Linked DNA regions of Homo sapiens: regions 1, 2, 3 and 4 are each linked to region 5. The links are contacts of gene promoters, found by promoter capture Hi-C in blood cells and fetal thymus (Javierre and others, 2016). All regions are on one chromosome and are shown on one strand. Each heading gives the region's core, a stretch centred on a gene start or on the middle of the fragment in contact. The rest is flanking DNA. Distances are from core to core; before and after follow the strand shown.

Region 1 (2,700 bases), core at 8-2,507, 320 kb after region 5:
CCCAGGAGACATCATAGCATCAAATCAAAACTCCCCAGGTCTTTGAGCCTTGCTCTTAAAGGAAGATCATGAGTCCCACCAGGCAGTTCTTCCTTCTACTACATAATCAAACTCCTTTTCTCTAAAATGTACTGAGTTTGGAACCTACATGCGACTTGTGCCCTTTGATTTGTTGCCCAGATTAGTTTGTGCTGGGCTCTATCCTATCACCAGGAATGGTGGTTTAATAAACCCTGGAGCTATACTGTCCAATATGGGCACATGGAACTATTTAAATTAAAATTAAAGCTTCGGTTTCAGCTTAATTAAAATTAAAGCTTCCAATTCTCAGTTGCACTAACCACCTTTCAAATGTTTAATGGTCTGTTGTACCATGATGCACAGAGGCACTGCTACAGGGTTGTTTGCATGTTTGATGTGAATTTCCCCTTTAAAAAATAAAAATGAAATTCAACATATAGAAACTTTCGACATATTAACTTGTGTCCTGTTTCATGCTACAAGTGAATACTATAAATTGAACTTAAAGTAACATATGCCACTAAAATACTGCTTCTTAATCAGTTTCACAGTTTGGGCTTTGTGTAAAATTCATTTGCTAAGAATGTTTGAAAATAACCTGTGACTTCATCATGGGCTCATAATTTTATGAGCCACTGTGGACAAACACTGTCCTTTTTTGTTTGTTTGATTTTTAGATACAGGGTCTTATTCTGTCACCAACGCTGTGGTGCAGTGGTGCCATCATGGCTCACAGCAGCCTTGAATTCCCAGGCTTAAGCAATCCTCCTCCCAGCTCAGCCTGCCAAGTAGCTAGGACTACAGGTGTGTGTCACTGCATCTGGCTTTTTTTTTTTTTTTTTTGTAGAGGCAGGGTCTCACTATGTTGCCTAGGCTGGTCTCAAACTCTTGGCCTCAAGTGATCCTCCACTTCGGTCTCCCAAAGTGCTGGGATTGCAGACATAAGCCACAGCACCTGGCCTTTAAAAAAAAAAAATGTACCTTGCACACTGCCCAGTACAGTTGCTACTTAGTAAATACATAGACTAACTGGTCATCTTGAAAGCACTCTTAATTTTATATGCCTACTTCTCATACACAAGTCTGTAAGAGGTTTCCACTAAATGTTCATTTCAGATTCTGAATTTCAACTACCTAACACCAGCCCTATAATTATGCAGTGTGCAGGCATTTTTTTCTCTAGAATATCTACCAAATGATTTTATAGTCCAAAGACACATTTATACTGTGACAGAAAATCCACCAACAATGCTTCATTGTGGAACTATCTTGGAACAAGATTAGCAAAAGTTGATAATTATCAAAATTGAGTAATAGATGCCTGATATCCATTATATTATTCTTCACTTTTGTGTATGTTTTTTAAAATTCCAGAGCAAAAGATATTTTGAAAAACTTAGTCAATTATATACAAATTTGATGAGGCCTCACACATACTTTACAAGATAACTATAACTTAAATATGGCTGGGTTCATAGCACTTTATTGACTATCCCAAGCCAGTGACCTGTTTCATGAAGTCCTCTCCTTGTATGGTCCTGAGGCGTGGTTGTTCCTTTGAATGGGGAAACATCATCAAATCTCGCTGGAGATGGGGTTCAGGCAGGTTTTGCACACAGCAACTCCGAGTTGTCATGTTTGACCACCTGGCTGTAAGGCCAGTAGTCTCTGTCTCCTCTTATCAGGAAAAAAGGTGAAAGATCTGCCCGCATCCAAACACTAAAGCAAACAACTGCAGGCAAGAGCAGAGGAACAGCTGCTTCCGGTCCACCTTGCTCCACACTCAGGACTGCACCCACTGCAGAGATGCCTACAGGTAGGGCCAAGTCTCCCAGGTACGGGTGCTGAATGCTTAGCACACCACAGAAAGTCCAACATAATCTACCTTAGAATGCCTCCATGGATACACCTACTCAGCTGTCTTAGTTTTACCTTCTGCCCTATGGTTACGCTACACATGGAATCATGGGAAATGCTGACTAGGAAGAGAAGCTCATCCACTCGAAATCAAGTTCCCCACAGCCCTGAGAGTCAGCAAACCCTACCCACAGTCCTTTCTGTACATGCCAGGCATGGCTCTCAAGGCTCATTCAACCCTCATAGCATCTTGGAGGTGGGAAAGTGAGGCAAAAGAGGTTAAGAAACTTCCCGAGGCCCCTTGAGCAGTGTCTGGTTCCCAAGCTTCTGCTCTCCCTGCTACACTATGCTGCCTTGTGACATGTCCTCTGCAGAATGGCACCTTCTGAGCCTGCCCTTCCCATATTCCCCTCTCTGCCCCTCTGCACAGCAGCCAGACATCCACGTTGCTCTCTCTCTTGAAATGCTCTGCCCAAGACCCCCAGTTGCTGGTTTCTTCCTTTTCTTTCTTTCTTGGTGCCCTGTTCTTTTCCTTCAGAGGAAGGAGATTTTACACATATTACAATCCAATATATATGATGCATATGTCTATTGACTTGTTTGTTGTCTAGACTAGATAATGTGCTTTGTGCAGGAAGGAACCACATCTGTTTTGCTCCCCATCAGATTTCCAATGCCAAGCACAATGCTTGGCCCTGGTAGATGCTCAAATACTTGCTGAATGACGATCACTGTTCAGTCAATCCTTTCAGTAAAAAGATTTTTAAATTCTCTATTTTGAGCCTAAAATAATAAATATAACCATCTATAAGAATACAGCCC
Region 2 (2,700 bases), core at 141-2,640, 340 kb after region 5:
ACCCTGCTTCTGAGAACAAATGCTCAGCCTCGGGCTTATTAGGTTCCCTTATTTGCCACAGAAACACCAGGATCGGCCGGGCCCGGTGGCTCACACCTGTAATCCCAGCATTTTGGGAGGCCAAGGTGGGTGGATCACCTGAGGTGAGGAGTTTGAGACAAGCCTGGGCAACATGGCAAAACCCCGTCTCTACTAAAAATACAAAAATTAGCCGGGCGTGGTGCCGGGCACCTGTAATCCCAGTTACTTGGGAGGCTGAGGCAGGAGAATTACTTGAACCCAGGAGGTGGAGGTTGCAGTGAGCCAAGATCGTGCCACTGCACTCCAGCCTAGGTGAAAGAGTGAGACTCTGTCTCAAAAAAAAAAAAAAAGAAACATCATGATCACTTTTACTAGTGGTGCCTACGGCCATCTGGGGGCAGGGAGTAGATCTCTGTCATTCCCATTAAAACAATAAATAAGTAAAAAGGAAACTGAGGGTCCAGGAGCGGTGGCTCACGACTGTAATCCCAGCACTTTGGGAGGCCGAGGCAGACATATCACGAGGTCTGGAGTTCAAGACCAGCCTGACCAACATGGTGAAACCCATCTCTACTAAAAATACAAAAATTAGCCGGCTGTGGTGGTGCGTGCCTCCAATCCCAGCTACTCCGGAGACTGAAAAAGAAGAATCACTTGAAACTGGGAAGCAGCGGTTGCAGTGAGTTGAGATCATGCCACTGTGTACTCCAGCTTGGGCAACAGAACGAGACTCCATCTCAAAAAAAAAAAAAAAAGAAAGAAAGAAAGGGAAACTGAGGCCTGAAGAAGCCAAGTCTCTGGCCTAAGGTCACAAAACAAACCCAGCTTACTGGCAGAATTGGAATTGCCTTCTTTCTATATCCAATCGCCCACTCCACCCTCCTACACCCACCTGGCCTCCCATGTCACTCAGCCATCACGGTGTGACCCACTTAAATCATTATTCAGAAGACCAGTTGGCCCTTCCTGACTGTAAGTCACCCCCAAAGCATCACTGTCACCATTATAATTAGTAAGGCCTCATTAAACTAAGAAGGTACCTGTCCCAGACTTTAGGAAGCCACCTGGTTTCCGGAGGCTGGGAGGGACTATGACATAATTCATCTATCCAGCAGAAAATACTGATTGAATGCCTGCTGGGTTCTGGGGTGCCCTAAAAGGTGCTAGTGAACAAAACCCAGGCCCTGCTCACGAGGAGCTTGCAGTCTAGTGGGAAATTCGGAAGCCCTGCCTCTGCCTGTGTGCACATTATGATGGTGAATGTCACATACCCTGGCCCAGCCCAAGGGATGTTTTCATATATTGCAGAGCAGAGGAGAAAACAGCAACCTTCCCCTTACACTCCAGACTTGCCCAACTGCCTGCTGGGTCTCGCCTGTTGGATGCTAATAATCATCTCAAATCATCCCACATCAAAATACATCAAACAGAACTAGCTCTTAGGCTCTGCCCACCCTCTCTTCATCAATGGCACCCACCTACCCACTCGTTCAAGTCAAGAACAATGAGTTGTCTCAGTTGCATCCTTGTCCTCAATTTCATCCTCTCCTGGTCACATCCAATCCATGAGCAAGTGCTGGGTTGGGCATGTCCAAACTCTGCCCCAAATCCAACCCCACAGCCATCATCCTTTCTCACCTCATGCCTCTGCTGTTACTCAACGATTCCACTTCAAAACGATCATCACAAATCTCAAATGGGCACTGGGCCCTGGCTGGCAAGCCTATATTACCTGGGTGAGTTCACTCTCCCACTCTCAGACCTCTGTGACCACTCTTTCCACAGAAGGCCTAACCTCTCTAGCTTCCTGAGACTTTACTATTGCAACCATTTCCCCCTTTCTCCTGCATAATCAATTTCTTCTTGTCTACCAGATTATTCCAATTAACGTACAAACATGTTCTCCTATCTCCCTTCTGAAAAATTCCCTTCCTCTTGCCCATCACCCCTCTCACTGCTACTCCATTCCCAGCTGTCCTTTACAGCAAAATTTTTCCAAAGAATTCTCTTCCTCTCCTATCATCCTCTTTCACCTGCTCCAAAGTGGCTTCTGATAAGTGGCTTCTGCCTCTACTGCTCCTCTAAAACTGCTCTTGTCACACCACTGATGATCTCCACTCTGCCAAATCCAGAGGTCACATGTGGGTCTCTGTCTTACTTGGCCCTTATACAGTTCTTTTCAAAACATCCATTAAGACCGGGCACAGTGGCTCACCTCTATAATCCCAGCACTTTGGGAAGCCCAGGCAGGTGGATCACCTGAGGTCAGGAGTTCGAGACCAGCCTGGCCAACATGGTGAAACCTTGTCTCTGCTAAAAATACAAAAATTAGCCGGGCGTGGTGGCGCATACCTGCAATCCCAGCTAATGGAGATGCTGAGGCAGGAGAATCACTTGAACCCCAGAGGTGGAGGTTGCAGTGAGCCGAGATCACGCCACTGCACTCCAACCTGGGCAAGAGTGAAACTCCATCTAAACAAACAAAACAAAACAAAACAAAACAAAAATAGAGATCAAAACATCCGTTGGCCACCTCTTAATCTATCCAAGCCTGATTCACTTAGAATGAGCTCTTCTGTTCTCGCCAGGCCATGGTAGGATGGAGAGATGTCAAGTCTCAGCACTCAAGTCACACATTTGTGGTGGTCCAGCAGATCGGACTTAAGAAAGGACGTCAAT
Region 3 (2,700 bases), core at 180-2,679, 370 kb after region 5:
ACAGATCAAGGAGTAGCTTTTAGAGCTAGTCTTAAGTCATGCCAGAAATATCTGAGTTAGAGAGAGAAGGTTACATGCAACAATTTGTTTCTGTCCCTGAAATGCTGCTCAGCCTGGACTTTCTGTGCTGGTTAAAAGCCCTTCCAACTCCCTGACCCACTGGCCCTAGCCCCACAGGTGTCCTCAATATTGATCTCACTCTTGACTCCATCCAGCCACCCAGACCTGTGGATTTCATGCCTCTCACAGCTGTGGGATATTCCCCTCGGCCTCCCTCCTGGGGTGGTTTCATAGCCGGTTCTCTAGTCTCGCTGTGTCCAGGCCCGACTGGGCAGAGCAACCCCCCAAGACAGCTCCCATGAGCTCTTTCTGATCACGATGATGAAAAGATTGTAATGGTGACTGCCAGTTATGTACCCAGAACCTACTGAGTGTCTACCATATTGCTTAGGTTCTTTCATTTAATTTCCAAAAGCCTACAGGGTAGCTTCTGTGGGTCCCACTTTAATGATGAGGCAACTTGCCCAAGGTTGGTCAAGGTGACTGAGCTGGTAAACAGTGAAATGCATTTGAACTCAGGACCATGGGACTCCGAAGTTTGTGTTCTTTTCACTTTACTGGTTTCCTTCACTGGCTTCCCATTGCCCAACAGCTGAGTTTCTGAAACTGTGCCCTGGGGACATCACCGTATAAGATGTTAACAATACATTTTCTTTTGCTTTTTTTTGGAGACAGGGTCTCTGTCACCCAGGCTGGAGTCCAGTGTCATGTCACGATCACAGCTCACTGCAGCCTCAACCTCCTGGACTCAAACAATCCTCCCACCTCAGCCTCCCGAGTCACTGTGACTACAGGAGTGCACCACCACACCCGACTAATTTATTTTTATTTTTTGTAGAGATGGAATTTTGCTTGTTGCCCAGGCTGGTCTCAAACTCTCGGGCTAAAGTGATCCTCCTGCCTGAGTCTCTCAAAGTGCTGGGATTACAGGCATTAGCCACTGTACCTGGCCATAAATTTTCCTTAAACAACAAAGTGTGTGGTGGTGGGCATGGGAGGCCTGTGGTTAAATCCATTTGGGACTAGCTCCCTGTGTTGCCCCCTCTTGGAGAATTCCTGGCATATTAGTATAGTAAAGGCTTTGATGCGTCTGCAATTAAAGAACAAAACCCTTTAACCCAGAGTTTTCCAAGGGCACTTTGCCATGGAAGCCTTTTGCACAGAGCATCTGTCAGTCTGAAGGACTGGTGTTCCTCGGCACACAGTCTAGGAACCGCTGGGCTTCTGGCTCAAGTTGCAGGCCCTTGGCCCAGTTGGTTCACAGGCCCCTGTGCAGCTTCTCTGGTTTCACCTCCTCTTGTGCCCTGGGTCAAACTTCTGTTCTGGCCATAGCTCACTGCTCACAATTCCTCCAGCCAGAGAGGGTGTTCATGCCTCCATGAGGGTCTTCCTCTGCCTGGCATTCTGTTTCCGCCCTCCCTCCTCTATGTGCTTTCAGGAATGTACTAGCTGGAATGTCCCCTGCTCAGAAGCATTTTCCCAAGCCTTTTTTTTTGAGATGGAATCTCGCTCTGTCACCCAGGCTTGAGTGCAGTGGCGTAATCTCGGCTTACTGCAACCTCCGCCTCCCAGATTGAAGTGATTCTCATTCTTCAGCCTCCCAAGTAGCTGGGACTACAGGCTCACTCCACCACACCTGGCTAATTTTGTTTTTTTTGTAATTATAGTAGTGATGGGGTTTCACCATGTTGGCCAGGCTGGTCTTGAACTCCTGGCCTCAAGTGATCCTCCTGCCTTGGCCTCCCAAAGTGCTGGTATTACAGATGTGAGCCACCGTGCCCGGCCTGCATTTTCCCAAGCCTTCTAACCAGAGCTAATCACCTACCCCATGATTGCACCATCCATGTACCTAGCACTTACTTTTAGTACAGCTTGTCTCTCTGTGTATATTGAATAATATTTATTTATTTATTTATTTGTTTTTTTTGTTTTTTTTTTTTTGTTTTTGAGATAGAGTCTTGCTCTGTCGCCCAGGCTGGAGTGCAGTGGCACCATCTCGGCTCACTGCAAGCTCCGCCTCCCAGGTTCACGCCATTCTCCTGCCTCAGCCTCCTGAGTAGCTGGGACTACAGGCGCCCGCCACCACGCCCAGCTAATTTTTTCTATTTTTAGTAGAGACAGGGTTTCACCGTGTTAGCTAGGATGGTCTCAATCTCCTGACCTCGTGATCCACCTGCCTTGGCCTCCCAAAGTGTTGGGATTACAGGCGTGAGCCACCGCACCCGGCTTGAATAATATTTATTTTTATGTGGCCGTCTTCTATTGCAGACCACGAACTTCTTTTTTTTTTTTTTTTTTTTTTTTTTTTTTTTGAGACAGAGTCTCTGTTGCCCAGGGTGGAGTGCAATGGCACGATGTCAGCTCTCAGCTCACTGCAACCTCCAACACCGGGGTTCAAGCAATTCTCCCTGCCTCAGCCTCCCAAGTAGCTGGGATTACAGGCGCACGCCACCATGCCCAGCTAATTTCTTGTATTTTTAATAGAGATGGGGTTTCGCCATGTTGGCCAGGCTGGTCTCGAACTCCTCACCTCAGGTGATCTGCCCACCTCGGCCTCCCAAAGTACTGGGATTACAGGCATGAGCCACCACGCCCGGCTGACCGTGAACTTCTTAAAGGGTAGACTGTCTTCTTTATTTC
Region 4 (2,700 bases), core at 114-2,613, 290 kb after region 5:
TCACAAAACAACACATTTTTCTTTTCTTTTCTTTTTTTTTGTTTGTTTTTTGTTTTTTTGAGACAGAGTCTCGATCTGTCACCCAGGCTGGAGTGCAGTGGCAAGATTTCAGCTCACTCCAACCTCTACCTCCCGGGTTCAAGCCATTCTCTTGCCTCAGCCTCCCAAGTAGCTGGGATTACAGGTGTATGCCACCACAACCAGCTAATTTTTGTATTTTTAGTAGAAACAGAAATTCGCCATGTTGGCCAGGCTGGTCTTGAACTCCTGGCCTCAGGTGATCTGCCTGCCTTGGCTTCCCAAAGTGCTGGGATTACAGGCGGAAGCCACCATGCCTAGCCAAAACAACACATTTTCAAAAGCTGATGCTCATGGGGTAACATGTTAACAACAATGTACCTTTGGGAAAGGGTTTAAGATTCCATTTTTACTTTTGCATCCATTTTAAAGTTTGAAACTATGTCCAAATTAAAAACAAAAGCAGCATTCCTAACCACTGTTTGGCTTTGGGGATATCATGAGAGCTGCTCCCCTCCCGTCCCTATTGGTTCTACCAGTTGGGATTATCAAGCAGGGTTCCAGGCAGTAAGAGGAGAGAGCTGAAGTTGTACCATTCCTTAAATTCTCAAGCTTCATTTTGAAATAATGACAGATTCTCAGGAAGTTGCCAAAGTAGTACAGAGAGGTTCCATGTACTTTTCACCAATCATTTCTAAAATTTTAAAGGCAAATCTTGTAAGTCAGATAAATTCCAAGTGGTTAAGAAATCATGTTTTTAACTTTCATGCAATGTAAGAAAAATGCATTCCACCTGGCAGAGTAAAACTTCCCCTTAGAAGGACTTACAGTCTTTCTTAAGGTCTTTCTTTAATGGTCAAATTTAGGAAGGCATCTTCAATAGGTATCTCCCAAGTACATGAACAGGCACTTCACCCAAAAGTTCAAATGGCCAAGAAACAAATAAAAAACTCAACCTTACTAAAAATAATACAGAATTGGAAACAAACCGATGAAATAATTTCTCTCAATGATTAAAACATGTATGATGCTGGCAAGGGCACAATGAGACAAACCCTCTCTTGCACTAAGGCTGGAACATAATTAGCAAAAACTTTGCTGAAAACTGGTATTAGAAACTAGAAAATTAGTAAAAACTTTTCTGTAGTATAAAAGTAGTATAAAAAATAATAAAATATTTATAAAAAATAATGGGTGCATCCACAGGGAAAACTCAAGGAGACAACACATAGACATCAGAAAATGACATCAGGCTGGGCACGGGGGCTCACGCCTGTAATCCCAGCTCTTTGGGAGGTCGAGGCAGGCAGATCACAAGGTCAAGAGATCGAGACCATCTGGGCCAACATGGTGAAACCCCGCCTCTACTGAAAATACAAAAATTAGCTGGGCGTGGCGGTGCGCGCCTGTAGTCCCAGCTACTCGGGAGGGTGAGGCAGGAGAATTACTTGAACCCTGGAGGCGGAGGTTACAGTGAGCTGAGATCCTGCCACTGCACTCCAGCCTGGTGACAGAGTGAGACTCCGTATCAAAAAAAAAAAAAAAGAAAATGACATCAATATGGGGGCAAAAAATCCCTAGAATAAGTAATGAAAACTCAGGACAGGTATGTCCTAAACAGATGGTACTCATCAAGTAAGTACTCATCAAGCTGACACCAATGTACAAATGTCTGCACTGGGCAAAAAAAAGGAGAGGGTAGCATTAATTCTCATTTTCTCCATATAACAGGTTTAACAGTAATTGTTATTTGCTAATTTCAGGTATTTCCAAATACTTTTGTGATCTGGAAAAAAAATTATATGTAAACACATGTCAATCTTTTAAAAATTATTATAATCATTATCTTCAGAATATAAAATTGCCCTAGCCAATCCTCCGTGCCTTACCCACAAGAAAACTAAGGCAGAAAGACTCATTTTTATTAAATGAGGACACACTGTATGTATGTATGTAATCTGCTTTTATACTCAAGATTACACACTGAAGTAATCTATCATTAGCAAGGCCTTTAGTTTGAGTTCCACCAACTTGGTAGCAGTCTGGCCCTCTGGCAAATCATTTACCCTAACCAAGCCTAAGCTTCTTTTCATCTGTAAAATGGGAATGGCAACTGACTGTTCAGAAGATTAAACGAAACAACTTAAGCAAAGCACTGAGCATGATCCCTGGCACAGAGCAGCCCTCCCTAATTGTTTACTGTTCTTATAAGCATTTTCTCAAATCAAAGATTATTTCATGCATGATTTTTAATCGCTGTATAGGATGAATATTCCATAATGTAATTCAAGAATACCACTTGAATTTCTTATTACAAACAAGACTGCAATGCTGCACATGATGCTATAGATAAACCTTTGACTAGCTATAGATAAACCTTTGACTGCCCTCTGGTTATTTCCTTAGGAAATATTTCTAGAAGTGAAATGAGAGAGTTGAACCATATGTATACATCTTCACTTCAATAAAAAATATATAATTTCAAACTCATTGAAAAAAACTTCAAAAACAGATGTAGAGGAAAAGTGAAATTTTCTCCTCCTCCCTGCAAAATCAGCTTCATGGAAGACAATTTTTCCACGGACCAGAGGCAGCGGGGTATGGTTTCGGGATGATTCAAGTATACTGCATTTATTGTGCATTTCATTTCTATTGTTATTACATTGTATATAATGACACAAT
Region 5 (2,811 bases), core at 271-2,770:
AATTCCTAGTCTGTCAACTGAGACCTTCCTCAGTCGACCCCCTCCCTGCATGACTTCCCTCTATCATCCCCCTCTTCCCTCCTGCAGGGACTGGGTCCACTTCTTGTTCCAGAACCCTCTTTCCAGCTTCGACTGCCTTGTTCTTAGTGAGCACTGCCCGGGAATCCCTGAGCCCCTCACATAGTGACCCTGCACTGGAGGGCTCACCCGAGACTCAGCCAGATTCCCAGCTAGACAGGCCCGGGCCTGAGTCCTAGAGGAACCCCCAGGCTCCCTTGCTATGACCCAGAGTTTAGCCCAGCCCTTCAGTGGCCAAGGCTGGAGGGCATGTGTCTGATGAGGATGACAGTGGGCTGGGGGTGGGGCTCAGAGGAGATCCTAAGGAGGCCTGGGGATGGGAATCCTGGATGGGGAGATCAGGCAAGGGTGGGAAGGCGGACCGCCCCCAGGACAGGGACCATAGTCGGACACAGGACATAGTCGCACACAACTTGCCCTCAGAAGCGGCAGGCGAGGCTACTGACCTTTGGGATTCCGGTACCGGTCCTCCGATCTGGCTGCTGGTACTGGCTCAGCTGCTGGGTGGGAGGAAGTGGGCGGGGCCAGTCAGGGCCTCCTCTGGCCTGGGCTGCCCCACCCCTGCATGCCCTCTATGTTCCCGGAGCTACTTCCTCCTTCCATGACAGCAGCTTCAAGACCCCTCGGTCCTCCCTGCCCCCAGTACTTGGGAGACAGATATGGGGTGGGGGTACCGGAAGCCCTGCCCCCAGCCCCCTTTCTGCCTTTGACCCTCATGGTGGCTTTGAGCAGGCATCTGAATGAGACAGGAGGGACAGGGAAATCTCAGTATTTTGAGAGGCCAAGACAGGAGGATCGCTTGGGTCCAGGAGTTTGAGACCAGCCTGGGCAACATAGGGACACCCTGTCTCTCTTTTTTTTTTTTTTTTTAAAGAGAGACAGGAAGAAAGTCACAGCCCGGAGGATCTTTCACCTCCCAGAGGAGGGGACCACATTTGGATCTTGCATCTTCCAGGGTCCGGTTGGGACAGCCTCTCCCCTCCCGACCCCCAGGCACCGCCCTCAGCCTCTCTTCCTCCTGAGCCTAGTTCTTCCACGGTCCTGGTTGCTAACTCTGGTTTGCTCCTCATGCCCAGCTCAGCCTGATGCTCTCCAGGCAGGAGAGGAACTGGGGCCACAGGCTCCTGAGCCCATCACCACGTGCAGCTGACACCCACAGACCCAGGCCCCAGGGCCATGAGAGGGAGACAGGCGGTAAAGAGTGAGAGACAGAGGAGGAGGGTGGAGCAAGCAGGAGGCAGAGCCGCAGGGCCCAGACAGCTGGAGATGAGAGCAAACCCCACAGGCCTCGTCGTGGGTTCTGTACCTGAGAGCAGCAGCAGCAACGCCACCATCCAGTGGCTGGGCACAGGAGACAACGCCAGCCTGGCCATGGTCACCGCTCTGTCCCCGACCCCAAACCCGTGACAACGTCCGAGGCTCCTTGGAGGAAAACGTGTAACTGCACCGGCTGCAGCCTGTCCCCTCCCCGCCTCTTCCTCACCAGGCCCCTTCCTGCCATGCAAATTGGGACCCAGGGGAGGCACCAGCTCTCCGGGGACCCTGGGGGAGGGCAGGCTTTTGTCAGCTGGGCCGCTAAGGTTTGGCGGTCGCCCAGCTTGGGCAGCACAGCTGGGGTCCTCTGTGGATGCCTCTGGGGGGCCTCTCAGTCTTCTGGGGGAAGCCTGTGCTCCCCTCTGTCTGTGCTTACCCCACCGGTGGTCATCCCCTGGGCCAGCCAGCCTCCCCTCTGCCGTCTGCCAACTCCCCGAAGGGCCGAGCCCGGCAAGTCTCTATTCCTGGGCCGTGAGCGAAATAGGCACCTGTCCTATGAATGAACCTGAACTTAGCTCCTCTGTCCTGAACTATTCCTCACCCAGCGGGAAGAGGAGCACTGAAGAAGGACAGGGCAGCCACAGACCCAGGTCAGGCATCTGGAGGGGCCCAGAGCAGAGCCTCTTGGCTGGAGTGCAGGCAGCCATGTTGGAAGTTGACCCTGTGGAGGATGGGAGCCACAGAGGTTCTGGAGCAAGAGCAGGTCAAGTGTGGCAGCCACTGGGAGAAGATTCAGTCCAGGTCTTGGTGAGAGGCCTCCCTTCCTCATGCTGTGAAAGAGTATGTAGGGGCTGCCAAACAGGGTGGATGTAGGTGGAGACAGCTTTGCGAAAATCCACCACGCAGCCACTGGGGGCTTCTTCAGGGAGTTCTTAACTGTGGGACTCTGAGTGCGTTGAATTGTTGTCTGCAGGTCCAGGGGGTCTTGGGCAGGGAACAGGAGCTGGTGTGGGGGAGCCCTCAGGTCCTCCAGCTGTATCCTGCCTGTCCTCAGAGTGCTGGATGGAGCCACAGTGCTCAGGAACTGATATAAACTCACCTTTGCGCCCCTGCCCCTGGGTCCAATGCAGCCCCTTCAGAGATGCCCTTGTGCAGGGCACAACATGCACAAGTGTACACAGCATGCTTGCAGACCTCAGCCCTGCAGCTGAGCCCTCTGAATTTTATGTTTCCTGGCAGCTTCTTTTTTGTCTCTCATCCTCGACCCCCAGGAGAGGAAGAGATGCTAAATCGTCGGTGCCCTCTGTCCACCTCTCACTCTCCTCACAACCCTCCGTTTTCCAGTCTGTGCTGGGGCAGGTCTGTCTGGATTTAGGGAGAAGCAGAACCACCTCCCATGCCATGGTTGGAAGGCAGAGGGTCTGGGTGGTCCCTCTTTAGATCTTGGCCTAGGCCTCGGACCTGATAAGGTGGGGGCCA

The links. The method cuts DNA at HindIII sites, captures the fragments that hold promoters and counts their contacts. A CHiCAGO score of 5 or more calls a contact.
Region 1: a fragment that was not itself captured here is called in contact with the fragment with the promoter of CD79B in region 5 in 1 of 17 cell types (endothelial precursors); the score reaches 5.3 in endothelial precursors.
Region 2: a contact is called between a fragment that was not itself captured here and the fragment with the promoter of CD79B in region 5, in 1 of 17 cell types (monocytes). The highest score is 6.0, in monocytes.
Region 3: a fragment that was not itself captured here is called in contact with the fragment with the promoter of CD79B in region 5 in 1 of 17 cell types (M2 macrophages); the score reaches 6.1 in M2 macrophages.
Region 4: a fragment that was not itself captured here is called in contact with the fragment with the promoter of CD79B in region 5 in 2 of 17 cell types (naive CD4 T cells and monocytes); the score reaches 5.9 in naive CD4 T cells.

What each region holds. Positions count from the first base shown.
Region 1 is chr17:64,254,183-64,256,882 of GRCh38, forward strand. All of the region lies in intron 1 of TEX2 (testis expressed 2), which reads right to left. Among named protein-coding and RNA genes, the nearest start is that of TEX2, 7.7 kb to the right of the region's middle. The HindIII fragment of the contact is 1,885 bases long and covers 316-2,200 here.
Region 2 is chr17:64,273,562-64,276,261 of GRCh38, forward strand. No RefSeq gene overlaps it. Among named protein-coding and RNA genes, the nearest start is that of TEX2, 12 kb to the left of the region's middle. The HindIII fragment of the contact is 5,259 bases long and covers 1-2,700 here.
Region 3 is chr17:64,296,353-64,299,052 of GRCh38, forward strand. No RefSeq gene overlaps it. Among named protein-coding and RNA genes, the nearest start is that of TEX2, 34 kb to the left of the region's middle. The HindIII fragment of the contact is 5,394 bases long and covers 1-2,700 here.
Region 4 is chr17:64,225,677-64,228,376 of GRCh38, forward strand. All of the region lies in intron 1 of TEX2 (testis expressed 2), which reads right to left. Among named protein-coding and RNA genes, the nearest start is that of TEX2, 36 kb to the right of the region's middle. The HindIII fragment of the contact is 1,470 bases long and covers 629-2,098 here.
Region 5 is chr17:63,930,811-63,933,621 of GRCh38, forward strand. CD79B (CD79b molecule) reads right to left here and starts at 1,521. Exons shown (of 6, transcript NM_000626.4): 1 at 1,385-1,521; 2 at 525-575. The coding sequence starts at 1,451. RefSeq lists a silencer at 371-440 and enhancers at 1,138-1,527, 1,501-2,171, 2,028-2,137, 2,148-2,197, 2,771-2,811 and 2 more. The HindIII fragment of the contact is 15,563 bases long and covers 1-2,811 here.